Linked DNA regions of Homo sapiens: all the other regions are linked to region 1. Evidence: promoter capture Hi-C in 16 types of primary human blood cells and fetal thymus (Javierre and others, 2016). All regions are on one chromosome and are shown on one strand. Each heading gives the region's core, a stretch centred on a gene start or on the middle of the fragment in contact. The rest is flanking DNA. Distances are from core to core; before and after follow the strand shown.

The links. Contacts are between HindIII fragments. The CHiCAGO score rates a contact against its expected background, and 5 or more counts as called.
Region 2: a fragment that was not itself captured here is called in contact with the fragment with the promoter of ZFP2 in region 1 in 2 of 17 cell types (megakaryocytes and erythroblasts); the score reaches 5.5 in megakaryocytes.
Region 3: a fragment that was not itself captured here is called in contact with the fragment with the promoter of ZFP2 in region 1 in 11 of 17 cell types (M1 macrophages, erythroblasts, non-activated CD4 T cells and 8 more); the score reaches 9.3 in M1 macrophages.
Region 4: a fragment that was not itself captured here is called in contact with the fragment with the promoter of ZFP2 in region 1 in 1 of 17 cell types (non-activated CD4 T cells); the score reaches 5.3 in non-activated CD4 T cells.
Region 5: a contact is called between a fragment that was not itself captured here and the fragment with the promoter of ZFP2 in region 1, in 2 of 17 cell types (M1 macrophages and erythroblasts). The highest score is 7.0, in M1 macrophages.
Region 6: a fragment that was not itself captured here is called in contact with the fragment with the promoter of ZFP2 in region 1 in 12 of 17 cell types (M1 macrophages, M0 macrophages, erythroblasts and 9 more); the score reaches 12.0 in M1 macrophages.

What each region holds. Positions count from the first base shown.
Region 1 is chr5:178,894,480-178,897,962 of GRCh38, reverse strand. It overlaps ZFP2 (ZFP2 zinc finger protein), which reads right to left and starts at 2,050. Exons shown (of 5, transcript NM_030613.4): 1 at 1,989-2,050. RefSeq lists silencers at 1,808-1,857, 1,928-2,037 and an enhancer at 2,148-2,337. The HindIII fragment of the contact is 12,652 bases long and covers 1-3,483 here.
Region 2 is chr5:178,651,495-178,655,135 of GRCh38, reverse strand. No RefSeq gene overlaps it. Among named protein-coding and RNA genes, the nearest start is that of CLK4, 26 kb to the right of the region's middle. The HindIII fragment of the contact is 1,957 bases long and covers 470-2,426 here.
Region 3 is chr5:179,094,802-179,098,083 of GRCh38, reverse strand. No RefSeq gene overlaps it. Among named protein-coding and RNA genes, the nearest start is that of ZNF354C, 36 kb to the right of the region's middle. The HindIII fragment of the contact is 2,410 bases long and covers 608-3,017 here.
Region 4 is chr5:179,035,435-179,039,040 of GRCh38, reverse strand. No RefSeq gene overlaps it. Among named protein-coding and RNA genes, the nearest start is that of ZNF879, 13 kb to the right of the region's middle. The HindIII fragment of the contact is 6,608 bases long and covers 1-3,606 here.
Region 5 is chr5:178,706,848-178,710,480 of GRCh38, reverse strand. It overlaps a transcript of MSANTD5 not described here. Among named protein-coding and RNA genes, the nearest start is that of MSANTD5, 11 kb to the right of the region's middle. The HindIII fragment of the contact is 777 bases long and covers 1,850-2,626 here.
Region 6 is chr5:179,077,982-179,081,535 of GRCh38, reverse strand. It overlaps ZNF354C (zinc finger protein 354C), which reads right to left. Exons shown (of 5, transcript NM_014594.3): 5 at 1-2,853. The coding sequence ends at 1,439. Among named protein-coding and RNA genes, the nearest start is that of ZNF354C, 19 kb to the right of the region's middle. The HindIII fragment of the contact is 1,486 bases long and covers 1,117-2,602 here.

The DNA of each region.
Region 1 (3,483 bases), core at 801-3,300:
GTGTGTTACAACAACTAAGACTTTTTTAAAAAAGAATACTGATGAGAGACAACTTGCCCACCAGTATTCATAAAGCTACAAGAATTGGAACACAATATTACTGACTTATTTACCAGATACATTGTTGACCACCTACTGTATACTAGGCACCATTGCATGGGGTAGGGGTGGATACAGCTGTAAATAAAACAGATAAACTCTCCGCAATCATGGATGTTATAGCCGAACAGGGAAAAGCATCAATGGAACAAATTAAAATTCTACCAACCTAAATGGTTCAAATACACATGTATTTATGTATGTGTGTGTATATATATATTTCATTCAAGATATGAAATAAGTGACATTTCATATCAACGAAGAAAAAATTACTAAGTAACTTGTAACAAAGGCTTACCATTTGGAAAAAAATAAAAATGTACACAAAAAATGAAAGTACTAAGAGAAACTACAAACATTTTTGTAATCTCGTGGGACAGACAGCTTCTCTGCCAGTGATGTCAAACACCCAAACGTGAAGAAAAGGTTTTCATGTGTGACCATAAGAACCTGTGACGTTTCTGCACAGTCAGGAAACATGCTTATGTATCAGATACAAAATTAAAATACAAAATGCAAACTGCGTGAAAATATTCATTAGTGTTCAAAATGCAAATGTAAACAATCCTATCTTTTGCACCTCTCAGAAGTTCAAGAGAATACTAACATTCACAGTTGGTGTGGGTAAATCTGGCACTCTTACACTGCAAGTGTTTATATAAACTGCAACTTTTCTGGAGGGAATAAGACAGGAGGTATCAAAATCCTTACTGTACCCTGGACCTAGAAATTTCACTTTAAGAGATTTATAGAATAAGACAAAATGCAAAGATGTATGTAGCCAGATGGCCTATACTGTTTATAATACTGAAAAAAAAAAAGAAAAAAGAAAACCCTAACACAAAAACCTAAGGAGAGGATTCAATACGACACATCCATACTTTCCCTCACACTCATTAAAATGACGTAGCTCTATTTAAAATCTGGTATAAGTAGATGGTGTCAACATATTCCAATGTTTTTTTCAGATGTATTCTCTATCTTCATTGGGTGTTTAGGCCAGTAAAAAATTACAAGGCTTAAGATTTGTGCACTTCAAACCCCTTACCAAATGCATCTCATGACTCAGTTTTAAAAGATAGATGGAGAAAAAGCTGCTAATATTCATATTTCTGTTTAAAAACAAAGTACAAAGTGTTTCTATGCTTATACACATATCCACGCTGCCATGCAGATGGAGATAGATTTTGAATGATTGTTTTAATCTCAATTTTCCAGTTGTGCTACAGTGAAATCGCTTAAGGAAAAAAAGAAAAGATTCCCCGAGGTCGAAACCTGCACCAGGTTGGCCTCCCCATTCTTATTGTGAGATGGGAGGGGAGCCCACGCCAGCGCTCTCGGAATGAGATCCAGAGGGCGGGTCCGGAGACCCGGTTTACACAAAGGGCAGATGCTGCACAGGGAGACCCAGCCTCTGGCCCAGAATCCCCGGGATGTCCGCGGGTTAGGTTCGCTCCACGGTCGCAGCGTGTCCCGGGACAAAGCTGCGCGCGGCTGGGGAAAGCCAGGGAGGAACCCGGGTCCGAGCGACTCTTGGAACCTTGGGCCCCTCCCTGACCCGTGGTGGCCGGCGTGGCCCTTGTTCGAGCCCCCATCCCCGCTGCTCCGGGGCTGTGATTCCACCTCGGCGCCTGCCCAGGACAGCGCCGAAGGACACTCAGCTGCCAGCGTGCTCCCGCCGCCAGCTCCTGGGGAAGAGGGAGCGCACCTGGAGCCGGAGGCCCGGCGCTCCACAGGCGCAGTGAGGCCGCACCCCCGGCCCATCTGCTGCGGGCCCGCCCCTCAACCCTCAGGAAGCTGGGGCCTCGCCCCGCAATCCGGAGCTCCTCCTGCGGGGGCCTACAAGACTCACGGATGGCGCGCGCCCCCGCCACCGGCCCCGCACTCACCCTCTCCCAGCAGGAGCGGGAGCAGCGGCGACCGACACAGCCGCGACCGGCGCTTACAGCCCGGAGCGCCAGACTACATTTCCCACAAGGCTGCGGGGCTGCAGTGCGGCCAGGCCGTCGGCGTGTGCGAGAACGGGGCCCCAGAGGGCAAGGCTGTGCCAGTGGCCAGCTGAGGTGGCCCACGGTGTGGCCTCTGCAGGTCATCGGTGTGTCCAGGCGGGACGCGGGGTTCCCAGGCGGCCCCTTACCCCGGCTAAAGTCGTCTCTCTGGCCAGGCCTGCAATCTCAGCACTTTGGGAGGCGGGTGGGTGAATCACCTGAGGTCAGGAATTCAAGACCAGCCTGGCTAACATGGTGAAACCCTGTCTCTACTAAAAATACAAAAAAAATTAGCCAGGCGTGGTGGCGGGCACCTGTAGTCCCAGCTACTCGGGAGGCTGAGACAAGAAAATCACTTGAACCTGAGAGGCAGAGGTTGCAGTGAGCCGATATTGCGCCACCTCACTCCAGCCTGGGTGACAAGAGCAAGAGAGTGTCTTAAAAAAAAAAAAAAGGCATTAATTTACCAGCAAATAAAATATTTTAAACTTTTATGTATTTAATAACATAAGATACAAAATACATAAAGCAAACATGGGCAGAACCCATTTTTAATTTTGTTTTCTTTCTTTTTTGTACAGATGGGATCTTACTCTGTTGCCCAAGCTGGTCTCAAACTTCTGGGCTCAAGCAACGCTCCTGCCTTGGCCTCCCAAAATGCTGGGATTATAGGCGTCAGCCACCACCCTGGCCTCAGAGTTTTTAACCTACCTTCTCAGTAACTAATAGAAAAGCTGACAAAAAGGTCACTATAGATATGAAATATTTGAAAAGCAAAATTAGTTTTATGTTAATGAATAGACATGTAGACTACTCCACCCCAAAACTGAAGAAAACACATGGAAAAGCATATATTTACTTAAGAAATGATCTCATACTAGTCTGTAAAGTAGCCTCAACACATTTCAAGCAATTGGTATCACACAAGACCATATTCTTTGACAATGTAATTAAGCTAAACATTTTTTAAAAGACTAGAAACTTTTTAGAAAAGATTTAGGTAAAGGGAATATTTAGAGGAAATTTTGCAGCCTTCAAAGCATACAGTAAAGAAGAAAAGAAGGCAGATTGGGTACAACACATCTAATTTTGTTCCCTCCTAACACGTACTGATATAGTTCAGGACACACACACTCACTGCCAAAATATGGCACCTCATCATTTGAGAAAACAGCAGAAACAGGAAGGACTTTTCCACACATCTCCCACGAAGCAGGTTGTAAAACCTAGGAAGAATTTCCTAACGTCCCCTGAAGCAGGTCGTAAGATTCTCATGTGAGATTTGCACTCCCTATACCTGGAGGAAAGTAACATCTTTATTGCTGAAGACACACAGTCACAGAGAAAACTCTTGAACAAACAGGCCTTGCTAAGTTGCCCCCAGTGTATTACTATT
Region 2 (3,641 bases), core at 199-2,698, 240 kb after region 1:
GCCTCCCAAAGTGCTGGGATTACAGGTGTGAGCCACTGCACCCGACCAACGGTTCCCAGATTCTTAATCCAACAAGAGTATGACAGGCTTGTAGCTGTTGTCCGTTTCTTCCTGCTCACCTTTCTCATGGAAGGAATTTCAAAAGAAACCACGAGGTGTTTGTATGTGTTTATCTTTTGGAAGAACAGAAGTATGGGAAATGTATAAATTGAAATGGCTTCTAAACTAAATAGTTTTTAAAAAAAAGACAGCTATATTTTAGCATAAGAAACAGTATTAGATTGAAGAGATTCTCTACATAACACTTTGTTTAGTATAAACAGAAATTAATCTGTTCATGGTCCTAAATTGGGCTCAGAGTTTCTCTTAGTGAGAAACCCATCCGTTTATACTTTCCCATATGCCATTTTTGAAAGATTCTACCCTAGTAAACTAAAATTTTACGGTTTATGAATAATACTGTTAAGCTTCCTTTCGGTGAAGAAAGCTACTACTTTAGCTGTAGTAATCAAAACGGTATGGTACTAGCCTAAAAATGGACACCTAGACCAATGGTGCCGAGTAGAGAAGCCAGGAATAATGCTCTTCCCCATACACATGGTCAACTTACCTTCAACAAGGCACCAAGAAAATAAAACAGAGGAAGGATGGTCTCTTCAATAAATGGTGTGGAAAACTGGATATCCACAGGCAAAAGAATGAGACTGAACTCCTTTCTTACATCATACACAAAAATCAACTAAAAATGTATGAAGGATTTAAACGTAAGACCTGAAACTGTAAAACTTCTAGAAGAAAACGTAGAGGAAAAGCTCCTTGACATTGGTCTTGGTGATAATTGTTTGGACATGACAACAAAAGCACAGACAACAAAAGTAAAAATAAACAAGTGGGATTATATCAAACTAAAAGGTCTGCAGAGCAAAGGAAACAATTGAAAAGAAAACCTACAGAATGGGAGAAACTGTCTGCAACCCACATACCTGATAAAAGGTTAACAACCACAATATACAAGGAACTCAAACAGTTCACTAGCAAAGAAACCTCCAAATAACCCAATTTAAAAATGGGTACTGGCTGGGTGTGGTGGCTCACGTCTGTAATCCCAGGGCTTTGGGAGGTCGAGGCGGGCAGATTACTTGAGGTCAGGAGATTGAGACCAGCCTGGCCAACATGGTGAAAGCCTGTCTCTACTAAAAACACAAAAATTAGCTGGGCGTGGTGGCGCATGCCTGTAACCCCAGCTACTTGGGAGGCTGAGGCAGGAGAATCGCTGGAACCTGGGAGGTGCAGGTTGCAGTGAGCCGAGATTGCGCCATTGCACTCCAGCCTGGGTAACAGGAGCAAGACTCCGTCTCAAAAAAAAAAAAAAATCATAATCAGAGATCACCTCATTGGGAGGATGGCTATTATATTAAAAACGAAATGGCCGGGCGCAGTGGCTCACGCCTGTAATCTCGGAACTTTGGGAGGCCGAGGTGGACGGATCACCTGAGGTCAGGAGTTCGAGACCAGCCTGACCAACATGGAGAAACCCTGTCTCTACTGAAAATACAAATTAGCCAGGCATGGTGGTGCATGCCTGTAATCCCAGCTACTCAGGAGGCTGAGGCAGGAGAATCGCTTGAACCCGGGAGGTGGAGGTCGTCGTGAGCCGAGATTGCACCATTGCACTCCAGCCTGGGCAACAAGGGCAAAACTCTGTCTCAAAAAAAAAAGAAAAGATAAGTGTTGGCGAATATGTGGGAAAACAGAAACTCTGATACATTATTGGCGTGAATGTAAATTGGTACAGCTATTATGGAAAACGGTGTGGAGGTTACTCAAACAATTAAAAATAGAACGATCATATGATCCAGCAATCCTAATTTTGGGTATTTATCCAAAGGAACTGAAATCAGGATCTCAAAGAGACACTGCCCTCCCATGCTCGCTGCAGTGTTATTCACAATAGCCAAGATATGGAAACAACCGACATGTCCATCGACGGAGGAATGGATGAAGAAGCATGGTATGTATATGCAATGGAATGGGGTTCAGTCATAAAAACAGAAGTGACATTCTGCCACTTGTGACAATTTGGCTGAGCCTGGAGGACATCATGCTAACCGAAATAGGCCACATACAGAAAGACAAATACTGCCTGGTTTCAGTGTGATGAGGAACTTGAAATGGTCGAACTCATAGAAGTAGAGAGCAGGACGGTGGTTGCCAAGGGCTGGAGGAGGAGAAATGGAAAGTGATGGTCAAAGGTACAAAATTTTAGTTATGCAAGATAAATAAATTCTAGAGACCTACTACAGCATAGTGCCTATAGCTAACAATACTGTCTTGGATACTTAAAATTCGCTAAGAGGGCAGATCTTCTATTAAGTGCTCTTACCACAAAATAATAATGATAATAAAAAAGGGGGTGGGAGGAAGCTTGGGAAAGTGATGGGCATGTCTATGGCCTTGGTGGTGGTGATGGTTTCACAGGGGTATACTTATGCCTAAATTCATCGAGTTGGATACATTAAATATGTACAGCTCTTTATATGTCAATCATACCTCAATAAAGTGGTCTTAAAGGAACAAATACTTTTTATACTCCGTCTTTAAAATAATAAAAGGGAAAGTCTTATTCTTTTCATAATTATATGGCTCTTGGGAAAGATACAGTAAGCAGGTGTACCCTGCATGGCTGAGAAACTGAGTGGAAGTGTGATTTACTTTTATTTATTTATTTTTTCTAAGATGGAGTCTCACTCTGTTGCCCAGGGTGGAGTGCAGTGGTACAATCTTGGCTCACTGCAACCTCCGCCTTCCGGGTTCAAGCGATTCTCTTGCCTCAGCCTCCCGAGTAGCTAGGATTACAGGCGCATACCACCACGCCTGGCTAGTTTTTTGTATTTGTAGCAGAGACGGGGTTTCACCATGTTGGACAGGCTGCTCTCAAACTCCTGACCTCAAGTGATCCACCCACCTCAGCCTCCCAAAGTGATGGGATTATAGGTGTGAGCCACCCACCTCAGCCTCCCAAAGTGCTAGGATTACAGGCGTGAGCCACCGCCCGGCTGGAAGTGTGATTTATGTGTTTGATTTACTTCCATTGTTCTGTAACCCATTCATTCACTCATGTCTTGCACCCACTTTCATAACATGAGTTTAATAATTTGTAGCAATTGTCCTAAGGCTGAGTATTGGCTTCTATAGAACTCGTTTCCTTTAAGTACCTTGAAAAAGAATAGATGGAATTTGTAAGGCTTTTATGACTCTACATTAGAGGATGTTCAATGACTTATTATATTCCTTAATGGCACATTTTTGAAAAAAAGTTTGTTTTGTTTGCTTGCAAACATTCCTCTTATAGTAGCCTCAAATTAATGTATATTACTTTGTATATGAAAAGCTTCCCATCAAAACACTGAAATGCCACATGACGGTACAGAGGCCCTTACGATTACCTCTCACCTCAGCGGTATTCATGCTGATGACTCATTAACATCAGCATTAATGCTATTCTCTGTGTAAAGCTCATATTTTCATATAATCTGTTCCCAGAGAATCATCACTGTTAGCAAACAACAACGGTGCCAACAATAATAATAAATGAGACTAGTGGGGCTGCCAAAAAGGGCAGAAGATTCATGAGACTGGGA
Region 3 (3,282 bases), core at 563-3,062, 200 kb before region 1:
CTAGTGGCTATGGCTCGCCTCTCTGAATTCCAATCCCCTCCTCACCTTTCAGCCATTTTTTTTTTCTTGCTCAGCCGTTTGCCTTTTTAGCTGTTTTCAGCAGGATATTTGGCCTAAATTATCAAATCAGAAATTTCTGGAACCTATATTTCAACTTTTAATATAAAATTGTCTATTTCTAACAATTGGAATTAGACTAAGTGCCATTTCCAATAATGTGTGACAAACCCGTAACACAAAGTTTTAGTGGTGAAAGAGAATAGGCATTTAAATTCCTAGCAAAGTTCCCAAATGTGGCAGTTTCTTCCTTATTTCTAAAGCAATTTAAACTACAGTGTTTCTAATATATATCACCATAATTCTGTATATACAGGGCTTTTGATTTTCAGGCAAAAAAAAATTACTGGATAGACAAGGGTCATGAAATAAATATTATAAAGATATCAAAGTTCAATTAACCTGGTTAATATATCAAAAGTTGTCATAACCTCAAGGAGAAATTGACAAAGCCTCCATCCTAGGGAAAAAGTTTAACATGTCTCTCAGTAATTGATAGCTCAGCAGAAAAAATAATAATATATAATTTGAATAATACAACAAACAAGCTTGATCTAAGGAAAACACATATATCTCTGAGCCTCCAACAATTGAACAACTCACATTCTTTTCAAACACATACAAAATATTTATGACAACTGACAACATATTGGACAATTAAAGAATAATAATAAATTGAAATGATTTTTTACTTAATGTAACTTAACTACAAAATTAAATTAGAAATCAATATTTTAAAATTTAGCTAAAATATATTTTTGAAATTTAAAAATCATACCTCTAAATAAATCACAGGTCAAAAAAACATTGAAAATTAGAAAATTCTGGTCACCAAGATGGCAGAATAGAAGGTAACCTGCTCACATCTCCCCACAACAACAAGAATTCTGCGCCTATCCAGAATCAAAAGTCTCTCTGCCTCAGGATTCAGATAGGAGTTTGTGAAATATTGGTGGAGCCCAAGATCTTGGAGGATTATTTTGAGAGTGCAGACTAACACCAGTTGGCTGATCCACCAATCTTGTTCCTGGGTTCAAGCCCAGAAATGGCCCAGTCCCCCAAGGGGCTTTGGCTACCGTACTGTTTGACTTTGAACCTGCAACCAAAACCATCTGTTAAAGGATCCAGAAGGAATTGTGTACCCTAGTGCCTTGGTGGAAAGGCATCTGCCTCGTCACCTCCATCTTAGAAGTAAACCTCAAAGTTGCCTTGTGGCTCAGCTCCAGTCCCCATCACTCCCATGTAGGTCCTAGCTCAGAGTTGCTCACACAAGAACCCAGAGGGAGACTCACTCATACCTCAATCCCAGGAGTCTGAGCCTCCCTGACAGGCTTGCCAATCTTATCCCACAACAGATCCTGAGGGGAACCAGTCTCAGCTCCAGCCCCTCCCACTGCAATCAGAGAACTATCTCATCTGTTCCAAGATCTGCTGGGAGATGCTCACCTATCTGGGCCAACATAATGGGCTCTCCAGCCTTTGTCCCACAGCAGATTCCAAGGGGACCCAGTCTCAACTCCAGCTCCTCTTGCTGCAGTAAGGAACCCATTCCACCTATGCAAAGACCTGCTAGGAGTCACACCCATCTGAGCCTACGGTACAGTCTTCTAGACTCAGATCTGCGAGGAGGCACACCCATCTGAGCCTACAGTACAGTCTTCTAGACCCAGGTCCCTGGCTAGCATTCCCACACAGCCCCAGTATATCCATTCCTTGGGTCTTCCCCAGGTCCATCTGGGACTCAAAACCTCAAAGTCCTCATGAGACTCACAGCAAGCCTGGGCATAGAGCATCTTCCAGTGCTGAGATGGGTACAGTGGTCACAGGCTCAGGGAACTCAATAGTGGGCTTAGAATCCCTGGAAGGCCCTCTGAAGAAAGGCAGGCACAAATGAGGCCAGACTGTGAAGACTAAAATAAATCTTCAGTCCCTAAATGCACAGACATTGTTGCACATCCACAAGCTCAAAAACATTCAAGGAAATATGACCTAACCAAACAGAGAAAACAAGGTGCCAGAGGCAGACCAAAGTGACGGAGATGTTTAATGTCTCAGATGAAGAATTCCAGGCTGGGCGCAGTGGCTCACACCTGTAACCCCAGTACTTTGGGAGGCCGAGGTGGGCAGATCACGAGGTCAGGAGATCGAGACCATCCTAGCCAACATGGTGAAACCCCATCTCTACTAAAAATACAAAAATTGGCCGGGTGTGGTGGTGCACGTCTGTAGTCCCAGCTACTCGGGAGGCTGAGGCAGAAGAATCACTTGAACCCAGGAGGCGGGGGCTGCAGTGAGCCGAGATAGCCCCACTATACTCCATGCACTCCAGCCTGGGTGACAGAGGTGAGACTCTTGTCTCAAAAAAAAAAAAAAAAAAAAGAATTCCAAATAGCTGTTCTAAATAGCTCAACAAACTTTAGGAAAACACATAGGATTAATTCAGAAATGTACCAGCAAATTTAACAGAAAGATTAAAACAAAAATTTTTTTAAATGTGAAATCAGCCAGGCACAGTGGCTCATGCCTGAAATCCCAGCACTTTGGGAGGCCAAGGCTGGTGGATCACTTGCGGTCAGGAGTTCAAGACCAACGTGGATAACATGGTGAAACTCTGTCTCTACTAAATACATGAATATTAGCCAGGCATGGTGGCGCACACCTATAATCCCAGCTACTCAGGCGGCAGAGGCAGGAGAATCGCTTCAACTCAGGAGGTGCAGGTTGCAATGAACCAAGATCATGCCATTGGATTCCAGCCTGGGCAACAGAGCAAGACTCCATCTCAAAAAAGAAAAAAATAGTGAAATCCTGGAGTTGAAAAATACTATGAAAATTTCAATAGAGAACATCAACAGCAGAACTGATCAAACATAGGAAAGAATCAGTGAGCTCAAAGACAGACTATTTGAAAATACATGGAAGAGAGAAAGAAAACATAATGAAAAGGAATAAAGAAAGCTTAGGGGATCTATAAGACAACATCAAACCAGCAAATATTCAGATTATTGGACTTAAAGAGGGAACTGAGGAAGAAATATAGGTAGAAAGCTTATTTAAAGAAATAATAATAGAAAACTTTCCAAACTTGGAGAAAGATACAAATATCCAGGTACAGGAAGACCAAAGGTTAGCAATCAGATTCAACCCAAATAAGAATTCTCCAAGACATATAAACTCTCAAAGGTCCAACATAGAGAGGGGATTCTAAAAGTAGCTAGAGAAAAG
Region 4 (3,606 bases), core at 672-3,171, 140 kb before region 1:
CTACTGGAGAGGCTGAGGAAGAGAACTGCTTGAACCCAGGAGGTGGAGGTTGCAGTGAGCTGAGATTGCACCACTGCACTCCAGCCTGGGTGACAGAGCAAGACTCTGTCTCAAAAAAAAAAAAGCAAAAAACAAACAAAAAAACGCATAGCATAAATCTAATCATGAAGAAGCATCAGACAGGTCCAATGAAGGGCCAGACTAGAAAACAACTGGCCTGTTCATTTTTCCTAGACCTATTCATGAGAAAACACCTGATCATGTGGCAGCCAGTAATAGCCCCAAACCACATGAAAAGAAGGGCATTTTAAGTAATTTCTTTGAATACAGTACATCAGGCATGTCAACCATATTATAAAAGTTAAAACATATTCTGCATTTTTCAGGTTGCTTTGAAACGACCTGTTAGGAAGCCATGAAAATGGACATTTTTCTTTTTGCCTAGATTCTGAACAAGTCTGTTGAGAAGTGTTGAGTCTTAACAAGAGAACTTGGGCAAAGAAAATGTGTTGACAACTTAAAGATGATTGTTAATTCTTTCTCTTCCTATTTATCTTAAGGTACACATAATTTACCGGGCACTTCCTTACTTTGGTTAGGAACCAATGTTCTCTTTATCTGGAGATCTAGGGAGATGAATGAGAAGGGAAGATTATAGACAGGTGAGAAAAGTGTTGATAGCTTTGTTAATGAGACACATTCCTGTTGAGCAGTGGCCTGAAGAAGGCTCTGATGGTGGCAGGGCTGTTAGGTACAACCTTTAAGCTCATTCCATATTAACCTTCATGTTCACATCACCCTGGGTGATCAGGTTTCAGGATCTCTGTTTTATTCCTCCTCAACTCACCAGGATTGAGTTGGACAAATTCTCTTAAAGTTCTTTTTACTGACATACCCAATGGCTCTGGCTGGCTGGAGCAGCCTCTTCCTGAAGACGGAGTCTCTCTCAAGCACCAAGCAAGTAGAGGAAGACTCTGTGCTTCTCCCCAAGTCATCATCTCCTTGCCTCACACCAGAGTTTTGTAAAGTCCCTGTCCTTTATGTATGTGGTAGCTAGTCTCCATACACAGTTCCCCAGTGAACCATGCCCTTGGCATTCAGTTTATTAAACTACTCTTGAATACGGGCCAAATTTGACTCATTCTCAATCAATTGTATACAGAATTAAAGCTGGCTTTTAAGATCTGCAACTTCTACCTAGCTCTCTTGGAATACTTGCTCTTGGGACACTCCCTCTCAGAAATCAACCCCCATTCTGTAAGAAGCCCAAGCCACATGGAGTAGCCCAAGCCACATGGAGTAGCCCAAGCCAGCTCTCACCCAGCAGTTACCAGCAACTGCCAGCCATCCTGAAGCCCAGTTTAGCTTCAGCCCCAGCCGCTCTGATGGCACAGCTACTAGACAGCAAGTAAGAACCTCCCAGCTAAGCCCCAACATGGGCTCATGACAGACAATACATTGTTGTCCAACACTACATTTGGGGCGATTCGTCCTACAGCAATGGATAACTACAATATATTCTCAATCATTTGATGTTATTTAAATATCTTTAAAACATGTACATATCTTTTTTTTTTTTTTTTTTTTTTTTTTTGAGGAAGAGTCTTGTTCTGTCACCCAGGCTGGAATGTAGTGGCACGATCTTGGCTCACTGCAGCCTCTGCCTCCTGATCAAGTGATTCTCCTGCCTCAGCCTCCCGAGTAGCTGAGACTACAGGCATGTGCCACCACACCCAGCTAATTTTTTGTATTTTTAGTAGAGATGGGGTTTCACCATGTTAGCTAGGATGGCCCTGATCTCCTGACCTCGTGATCTGCCTGCCTCAGCCTCCCAAAGTGCTGGGATTACAGGCGTGAGCCACTGCGCCCGGCCAGTATATACCTTTTAACATATAATTTTGCAAAAAAATTGTATCATACCCTATGTAGTTTGCCAATGACTTTTAAAAACTCAAAAATGTGTTTTTCAATCTATCCGTTTTTTTGTTTTAGAGACATTGTCTTGCTATGTTGCCCAGGTTGGTCTTGGACACCTGGGCAACAGTGATCCTCCTGCCTCAGCAGAGTAGCTGGGACTACAGATGTGCTCCACCATGCCAGCTTCATCCATGTTTTGCTTCACTTTATTCCTTTTCACTGCTGTTTCTACTGTGTTAATATTCCAAAATATATCCATTCTCCTAATTAATGGACATTCAGACTACTTACAATCATTTGGTGTGATGATCAGTGCTGCTAAGAATATCTTTATACATCCCTTGATGCCCACATGCAATCATTTCTCCAGTGCATCTATGCAGATGTCCACAACACGCACAAGTTCAGCTTTATGTCAGTCATCTCTGACTTATATTCCCACTACTACTGAATTTCTTATTCCACATACATCCTGAAGCTCAGTATTGTCACACATCCTAATTTTTCCTCATTTGTGGTTGTAAAATCATACATTACCGTGGCCTTAATTTGCATTTTAACTACTAATGAAGTTAGTTACCTTTTCGTGTTTCTGGAAATTTGTATTTTCTTTTCTGTGAAATAAGAAGTCATGTATTTAGCCCATTTTCCTAGTGTTATTATTGATTTGTACAAATTAGTATTTCTGGATTATAGTAGTTTTGTTGGGCATACTGTAGAAAGATCGATTTTGTGTCTTGACTTTTTTCACCTCCGTTTTTGTATACTTTGGTAAGAAGTTCTTTCATGTGAGCAAATAAATCAAAAATTTTATATAGCTAATTTGTAGCCTGTTTAAGAAATCTTTCCCAATCTCAAGAACATAAAATTATTCCTTTACATATTCCTCCAAGTTATTCAGTTTTTGCTTTTCATATAATTGTTATGGTGAGGGTAGGGATCTAATTTTTTTTCTGTGAATCATTTCTGTCTCAGAGCCAATTTTGAACAGTTCATTCTTTTTGTTTTTTGAGACAGTCCTGTCACCCAGGCTGCAGTGCAGTGGCATGATCTCGGCTCAGTGCAACCTCTGCCTCCTTGGGGTCAAGCAATTATCTTGCCTCAGCCTCCTCAGTAGCTGTGATTACAGGCATGTGCCACCACACCCGGCTAATTTTTGTAGTTTTAGTAGAGACAGAGTTTCGCCATGTTGACCAGTCTGGCCTCGAATTCCTGACCTAAGGTGATCCACCCACCTTAGTCTCCCAAAGTGGTGGGATTACAGGCGTGAGCTACTGTGCCCAGCTACAGTTTATTCTTTCTCGGTATTTCTTGTCATTAATGCTTCTAACATCTTACCATTCTTTTTCAGTAGGCTTTCTATAAATGAACTTTTATCATGTTATTAACTATGCTTAGGTGCTCTGGATTACGTTTGCTAATGATTTGCTTGGGATTTCACCTCTTGTTCATAGGTAATATTGGCCTATAATATTCATTTCTTGTGCTTTACCTGGCTTTGGCACTGGGTTATATTAGCAAAATTGTGCTATTACATTATCTCCTCTGGGAGACTTTCCATAAAACTTGATCTATCTGTTACTTCAAGTTTTGACAGATCTTGTTTTAAAAAATAACTTGGCCTAATGTTCTCTTTGTGTGATTTTAATTCAGATTTAACTTTTTGATGATTTTAAAACTACTAATAGT
Region 5 (3,633 bases), core at 989-3,488, 190 kb after region 1:
CAAGTGTCCCTGAGAACCCAAACATCCCAGAGTATCTGGGAACACACTAAGCAAACAGTCCAATCACACACGAGGCAAAGAGCCAGAAAACTGGCTTAAAAGCAGCTTAGAGGTGCGAGGTGGTGCAGATCTCCAGAGCTGTCCTGCTGCAGTCCAGGAGAGCCCTGTATGGAAGTCATAATAAACTCATCTGCTCATCAAGCTGGACTTGTCTGAGTCATTCTTTGGTCTCTCGGCTCCTTCCCAGTTTGAGGGGGGACATTACAGTCCTAAGTTTTTCTCAACAGTAAATATTTTTTAACTTTGGAGCAGGTACTATACAAGTTTACAAGTTTTAAAACTGTACAAGTTTTAAGACAGACACAGGCTTTTCTTCAAGAAGCCATGAATTGGGAAGGGGATGGAGTTGGGCTAGCAAATGAGCAAGCAGATTATATTGCAGTTTTTGTTGTTTCAGTAGGCAAATAAGTTATGACAATATGTTCCACTATGAAAATATTGTAAAGATTTGCACAGGATGAAGAAAGAGACTCATGAAGAAAGCCTGGAGACATCAAAGCTTTCCAGGGGCAATGATGCCTGGGCTATATTTGGGGAGAATAGTAGGAACTCCGAGGGAGACAGAAGCATTCCGATTAAGAGGAAACAGCATGCGCCAAACCACAGGTGGATAATAGGACATTTGGAAAACTTAATTTAGAACTAGTGAGCAGGAAAATGACAAATGTTAAAGCTCGAGTAGAAGGCAGAAGCCAAATCACAAAAGGCCTTATTTGCCAAGCTAAGGAGTTTGGATTTTATGGTAAAATCGGTGGAGTCAAAGATGGTAAGCAAGGGAAATTCCATAGAAGATAAGCGTATGGGGTTGAAGAAAGCTGATGACTGATGCCACCCAGGAAATCTGGGCTGTTTAAATTCAAGTAATAGGTAAATGAGGGTTCCAACTCAAACAGGGACAGCATTGATGGAGAACAGGAGACAGATAATCATGTATTAGAATAAATAAGGCATGGTTTTCATAGGCAAATAGGTGAGAGTGGCAAGTGAGGAGAAAGCTGACTCACAGGTAGGGTTGCCAAACGTCCTGTATTTAATGATTTTGTCCTGAATCCTGTATTAACTTTGTTAGGATGCCTTAAATGTATTCAGGGTTTCTCCCCTCATTAATGAAAAATCAGCACTTTGAGCTACGGTTCTGCTTCAGTAATTGGCGCTTAAATCGCTTAAGTGGCAATACAAGTTGGAAATCATACCTCCACAAATAAAGATCTGAACCATCTCTTATGTTTTATCCTATGTGTTTGACTGAGGGAAGGCAAAAGGGGGAAGTGAGAATAAAAGTACTTGTTTTCCGTATTAAAGAAAGGAAAAGACTGTTCTTTTGGCCAAATTCCTAAGTTGTAAAATAATCCCCAATAATTAGATCTTTGGATCAGTACACGTGGTCTGAAAAATCAATGATGGCCTCGCTGCCAGCAGCCATGCTTCTGAAATCAACTTCCTGACAGCCTCCAGCTTCTGAATGCCACTTGAGTGCTGCTTCTAGACCACGGTTGGTCAGCAAGTCCCTCCTTCCAGTGACCGTGCTTCTGGAAGTTAGCCAGTCGACAACCGTCTAATTCCAGTGACCACACTAACACGCTTGAAAATCTAACAGTCCATAAACATCCCTGCCTCTGAAAATTCGCCAGTCCCAGACACTGAGCTGCTTAAAATTTTGGATAAGATCAGCTCTGGCTTTCTTCAGGGATCCTGTTACTGCAAACACAGTTCTCCCTTGCAGGCATGCATCAAGTTCGACTTTTCTGTGTCACATATCAAGTTCAAGTTTATTGTTAGTTTGTAAGCTTCCAACCTTTCAATAGCTCAGCCTCAATTTATTGGTAATTATGCTTCACTCTTGTGAGTGAGATGATCGAAATTAGTATTTTCAATTATTGTTATTAACTTATTTTTTATTTTATATTTTGTGTTAAGGATACTTAATATGAGATCTACCCTATTGCCTATTTTCATTTATGTATATTTGAATCAAAATGCAAGTATAAGTTTCATGATTAATTTTTAAAATATTTGGTATCAGAGAAAAGATGTTTTGAAGCTCTTTCTACAGTACACAATTGTTCATTCAGTATTGAACATATTGGAAAGTCAGATATAAGGCAGGATATACTAACAGCTAAGCCTAAGTGATAGATGATTTCCTCAAATAGTGCTAAAGAAACGGATAAAGTAACAAATTTTCCGATGAAAGGAAATTCAGATAAAAATAAAACAACCATAGCAGAAATTGTAATGACTTTCCACACTCAATCTTTTCAGCTCAAATGACCAATGGAAACACACCAAAAGTATTTCCTGCTTCCAAAATTGCAAACGAATTTTCAAGTGCCAGGATAAAATCTGCAGTAATAAAAATGTAATCTTTCTGTTTACTATTAGAGACTATATAAAAGATCTAAAATGTCTCTTTTTACAGTATAACCCCAGATGCAAATAATCACAATGAGAATTTTTTTTTTTTTTTTTTTTTTTTTTTTTTTGCCTCTGCAATGTTTTTCTTTTGAAAACCTGTGCTTATAAAGCTATCTTATCCCTTCTAGATGAGACCTGGGAAATTGAAGCTTTTTGCAGAAACTAAATTGAGTTAATAAGTCAAATTGTATTCCTTTGGTTGATATAATACAAATACAAATTTATGTAGATGTGTAGAAGTGCAAACAATTTTTTTTTTTTTTTTTGAGACGGGGTCTCGCATTGTCGCCTGGCCTGGAGTGTAATGGTAAGATCTCGGCTCACTGCAACCTCCGCCTCCCGGGTTCAAGCGATTTTCATGCCTCAGCCACCCAAGTAGCTGGGATTACAGGCACCTGCCACCATGCCCGGCTAATTTTTTTTTTTTTTTTTTTTTTTTTTTTGTATTTTTAGTGGAGATGGGGTTTCACCATGTTGGCCAGACTGGTCTCGAACTCCTGACCTCATGATCCACCCGCCTCAGCCTCCCAAAGTGCTGGGATTACAGGAGTGAGCCACCGCGCCCCGCCAGAAGTGCAAACAATTGTTATTCAAAATTAAAGCAAAGCCTGAAGTAGGCTGTAGAAGGTGTCCTATCCATATTCTGCGTTTCTGCATGATGCTACACAGACAACCTCTGATAGCCATCCTATTGACACTGAAGTCATCATGAAATTGTTCCCTTCCTCGGCATTTAAACTGTTTAAACTGAGCAGTTAAAGGACTTTTGTGATTCTGTTGTCATTCGATATTCTTCTATTCTTCATTCTTCAATTCTCTCTTTCATTCTCTAGCACTCAGAAATTTGTTGGAACCCCCAGTTTCAACTACAACATGCAAACGGCTTGGAAGTAGTCACCCCTATCCTTATAAGAAAAAGCTAGTCAAGCTGAAAAGCAGTGACTTTTATCTTTCTGAGAACTGAAGTCACAACTGTGAAATCTGGAGAGACGGGTGTATCCAGAGACACAGCTGAGATCTGTTTACTTGGAGCCCACTGGAGCCAAAACTGGTCGGAAAACTAACAGGTAATTTTGATGAATTGCTGGAGGTTGAATATGGACTAAACTGAGAATGTGGAACTTCTGGGTCCATAGTCATAACGGGTCCCGCATACCG
Region 6 (3,554 bases), core at 610-3,109, 180 kb before region 1:
CTAACATTTTTCTCAGAAGGTCTAGCTAATTGTATTAGAATTTTTTTTAATGATACCAACTGTGAATTGAATGAAAAATCAAATATAAAATTGGAGGAAAAACGCCTGGGAGGAATTAAACATTTAAACTGATGAAAGGAATGCTTAATAATAAACTCTTCATATATAACTTTCCATAAAATAATTAATTCCTAAAATATGTGTAATAAGAAGGCAACCTTATATGTGAAGCCTCCAAAAGCAATTACACTATCTGGACCTCAGCTAGCTTTAAGGATTTAAGTACAATTATAACAAAAGCAGGCATAATTAGGGACTCATAAGAAAAAAGAATATAGTTGTGAGTCAATTATTAAGATTAAGGTGAGAGGAAGCCCTTAAAGATAACACAGTAACTTTAAATTACTGCAACTATGTCTAACCAGGCTACAAAACAAATAGTACTCTTGGGACCTCAGGTTGGAAACGAGCCTATAATGATCACAAAACACCAGAACCAAAGACCTAGATTCTAGTCTTGACTCTGTTCACTAAGTTCAAATCCTTCGTTAGTACAATGAAAGGCTATAATTAAACTAAAATCTCTCCTGGCTCTAATGAGCTACCAGACATGCAGCCTGAGATTCTGCCAAATACATCCCTTCTGCAACAGATAACAAAGTATGTGCTTGACAGTCTTTCCAGCTGCTTCAGTTAATCCGCCTTCTACGGTACTGTAATAGTACTCTGTTCAGTTATATAAAACCACATCAATTTAAGAAATAATGGAAGAAAGTAAAAGAAAGAGAGTCTACCTTTGGGCAAGATTTTAAGAACTAAATTCTAAATCAATAAAACTACATTTTTTAATAATAAAGGACTTTTATGTTTACACACACACATGCATATGTGTATATATGTATGTTTACATATATAAGTTGCTGGTGGGACAGCTCATATAAAGAGCTTTATTATTTCCATGTGAAGAGTTAAATTTAAAATTCCTTTTTATGTTTAGCTTCTCTTTATGAAAAGAAGTGCCTCCTATGTTAGCCAGCTATTTTAAAGAAGGCCACACACTTATTTACATTATTAACTCAGTGACTGTTTTTAAAAGAAAATTCACATATTGAAGCTTACTCTTTTAAAGGGAATATGGTCTTATGAGAGAAACAAAATGTATATTCAACTATTTTTCATGATTTTTAAAAAGACCTTTTACATTTTTTCTATGAATTAAATACTCATAGGTTTTTAGATACCTTAGAATTTATGGTTCTTTTAAAATTTAACAAGTCAGTGCTCTTCATAGTCTCACTGATCAATTTTATCATGACTTAGTGGCAACTAACATATTTCCTTCAGGAGAAGTAAAAAAGACAAATCTATTAGGAGTTTGTACCCTATTTATTATTCCCTTATTCCCCAGTGAGAAGTCTTGGATTATTTGAGAGATGAACTAAACCTCATAGGCTTTATCTCCTTTAAAAAATCTCTGATACTGGGTAAGTGAGGAGCTGCAGATGAAAGGTTTCCCATATTCCTTCCACTTATAGAGTTTCTCTTTCGTGTGAACTTTTTTGTGTCTACAAAGGTTTGATCTGTAACTGTAGGCTTTCCCACATTCCATACATTTATACAGTTTCTCTCCAGTGTGGATCCTCTCATGTTCGGTTAAAAATGAATACTGGCTGAAGGCCTTTCCACACTGATTACACTGATACGGTTTCTCTCCAGTATGAATTCTCTGATGCCTATAAAGGTTAGATTTGCAACCAAAGGCTTTCCCACATTCCTCACATGTATAAAGTTTTTCCCCAGTATGAATTTTCCGATGTTCATTAAAGGATGAATACTGGTTGAAGGCTTTCTCACATTCGTTGCACTGATAAGGTTTTTGTCCAGTGTGAATTCGCTGATGTTCGATAAGGGTTACAATACGTGTGAAGGTTCTCCCACATTCCAAGCATGTATACAGTTGTTCTCCAGTATGAAACCTCTGATGTTCAGCTAGAGATGTAAACTGGCTGTATCCCTTCCCACACTCACTACATTTATAGGGTTTCTCACCTGTATGGATTCTTTGATGCCTGTGAAGTTTTGCTCTACAGTTGAAGGCCTTCTCACATTCGCCGCATTTATAGAGTTTCTCTCCAGTATGAATTCTCTGATGTACAGTGAGGGTTGAACACTGGCTAAAGGCTTTACCACATTCCCTACATCGATACGGTTTCTCTCCAGTATGCACTCTCAGATGTTTGATAAGGGTTGAACTGTTGCTAAATGCCTTCTCACATTCATTACACTTGTAAGGTTTCTCTCCAGTATGAATTCTCTGATGAGAAAGAAGGGATGATCTGTGGCTGAAGGTTTTTTCACACTCATTACATTTGTAGGGTTTCTCACCTGTATGAATTCTCTGATGTTCAATAAGATGCAGATTCTGCTTGAAGCTCTTCCCACATTCATTACAGATGTGAGGTTTTCCTCCTGGGTAAATCTGGAAGCATTTCATGAGATCAAAATTCTGTTTAAAATCTTTCCCAAATGTATAATACATATTGGGTATCCTTTCTATAGGAACACTCTGTTGTGTGACAAGAGCTGTATTTGTAAATAAGCTTTTCCCCAATTCAAGACTTGTATGGTTTCCATCTTCACTGATGGTTTTCTCATGCGAATCTATCATTTGTCTAAGAGGTTTCTTCTCTTGCTCTTCTTCTATCTCGCTCTCAAATTCCACAGCTTCTTCAAAGTTAATGTCCCAGTGACCATCCTTAATGGATTCTTTCTTTACCATTCCCTGAGATGTTTCTTCTATAAAAATGTCCTGTCTATGAGGCAATGCTTCTGTTTCAAGCCAAGTCTTGAAACCTAAAATGAATCAGAAGAATTAATGCCTCCTCTGCTGGAAGAAACAAACTGATGTATCGGTGAGACAAAAAAACTGGTAACAGTATATATGAAAGAAGAGTGATACAATCAGATTTCAAATGCTGACTTGAATCTTGGGAAGAACAGGATGGGATAAAGGAAAGTGAGGTAAACAGGTTAAGGAATGGCATGGGAGAATACACTGGACAAATTAACAATGAAAATGAAGCGATTCCACCTGGATATAGTAAAGTTAGATGCAGAAGAACAGGCTGAGTAGAAGATATGAGGATACAGAAAAATGCCAAATGATAAGCCCACGCTGAATACCATGGGATACTCCACTCTGTCATCATTTTCCACTATGCATATACCAGGCAATGAAGTAGGCAGCCTGTCCACCTTCTCCTTCTTACTCACATGTCCCTTTCATTACGTTTTCTCCCCATGCTCTCTCTGAAACTCTATGCCCGATAATCTTTTAAATATTTGGATTGGTTTTCTTAAATTTCTTTACTTCATGTGACTGTGATTTTATATTGTAGTCTGTGAAGGGGGAAACAGTCTGTTAAAGAGAAGACAGGCCGGGCGCGGTGGCTCACACCTGTAATCCCAGCACTTTGGGAGGCAGGTGGATCACCTGAGCTCAGGAGTTTGAGACCAGCCTGGAGAACATGGTGAAACCCCGTCTCTACCAAAAA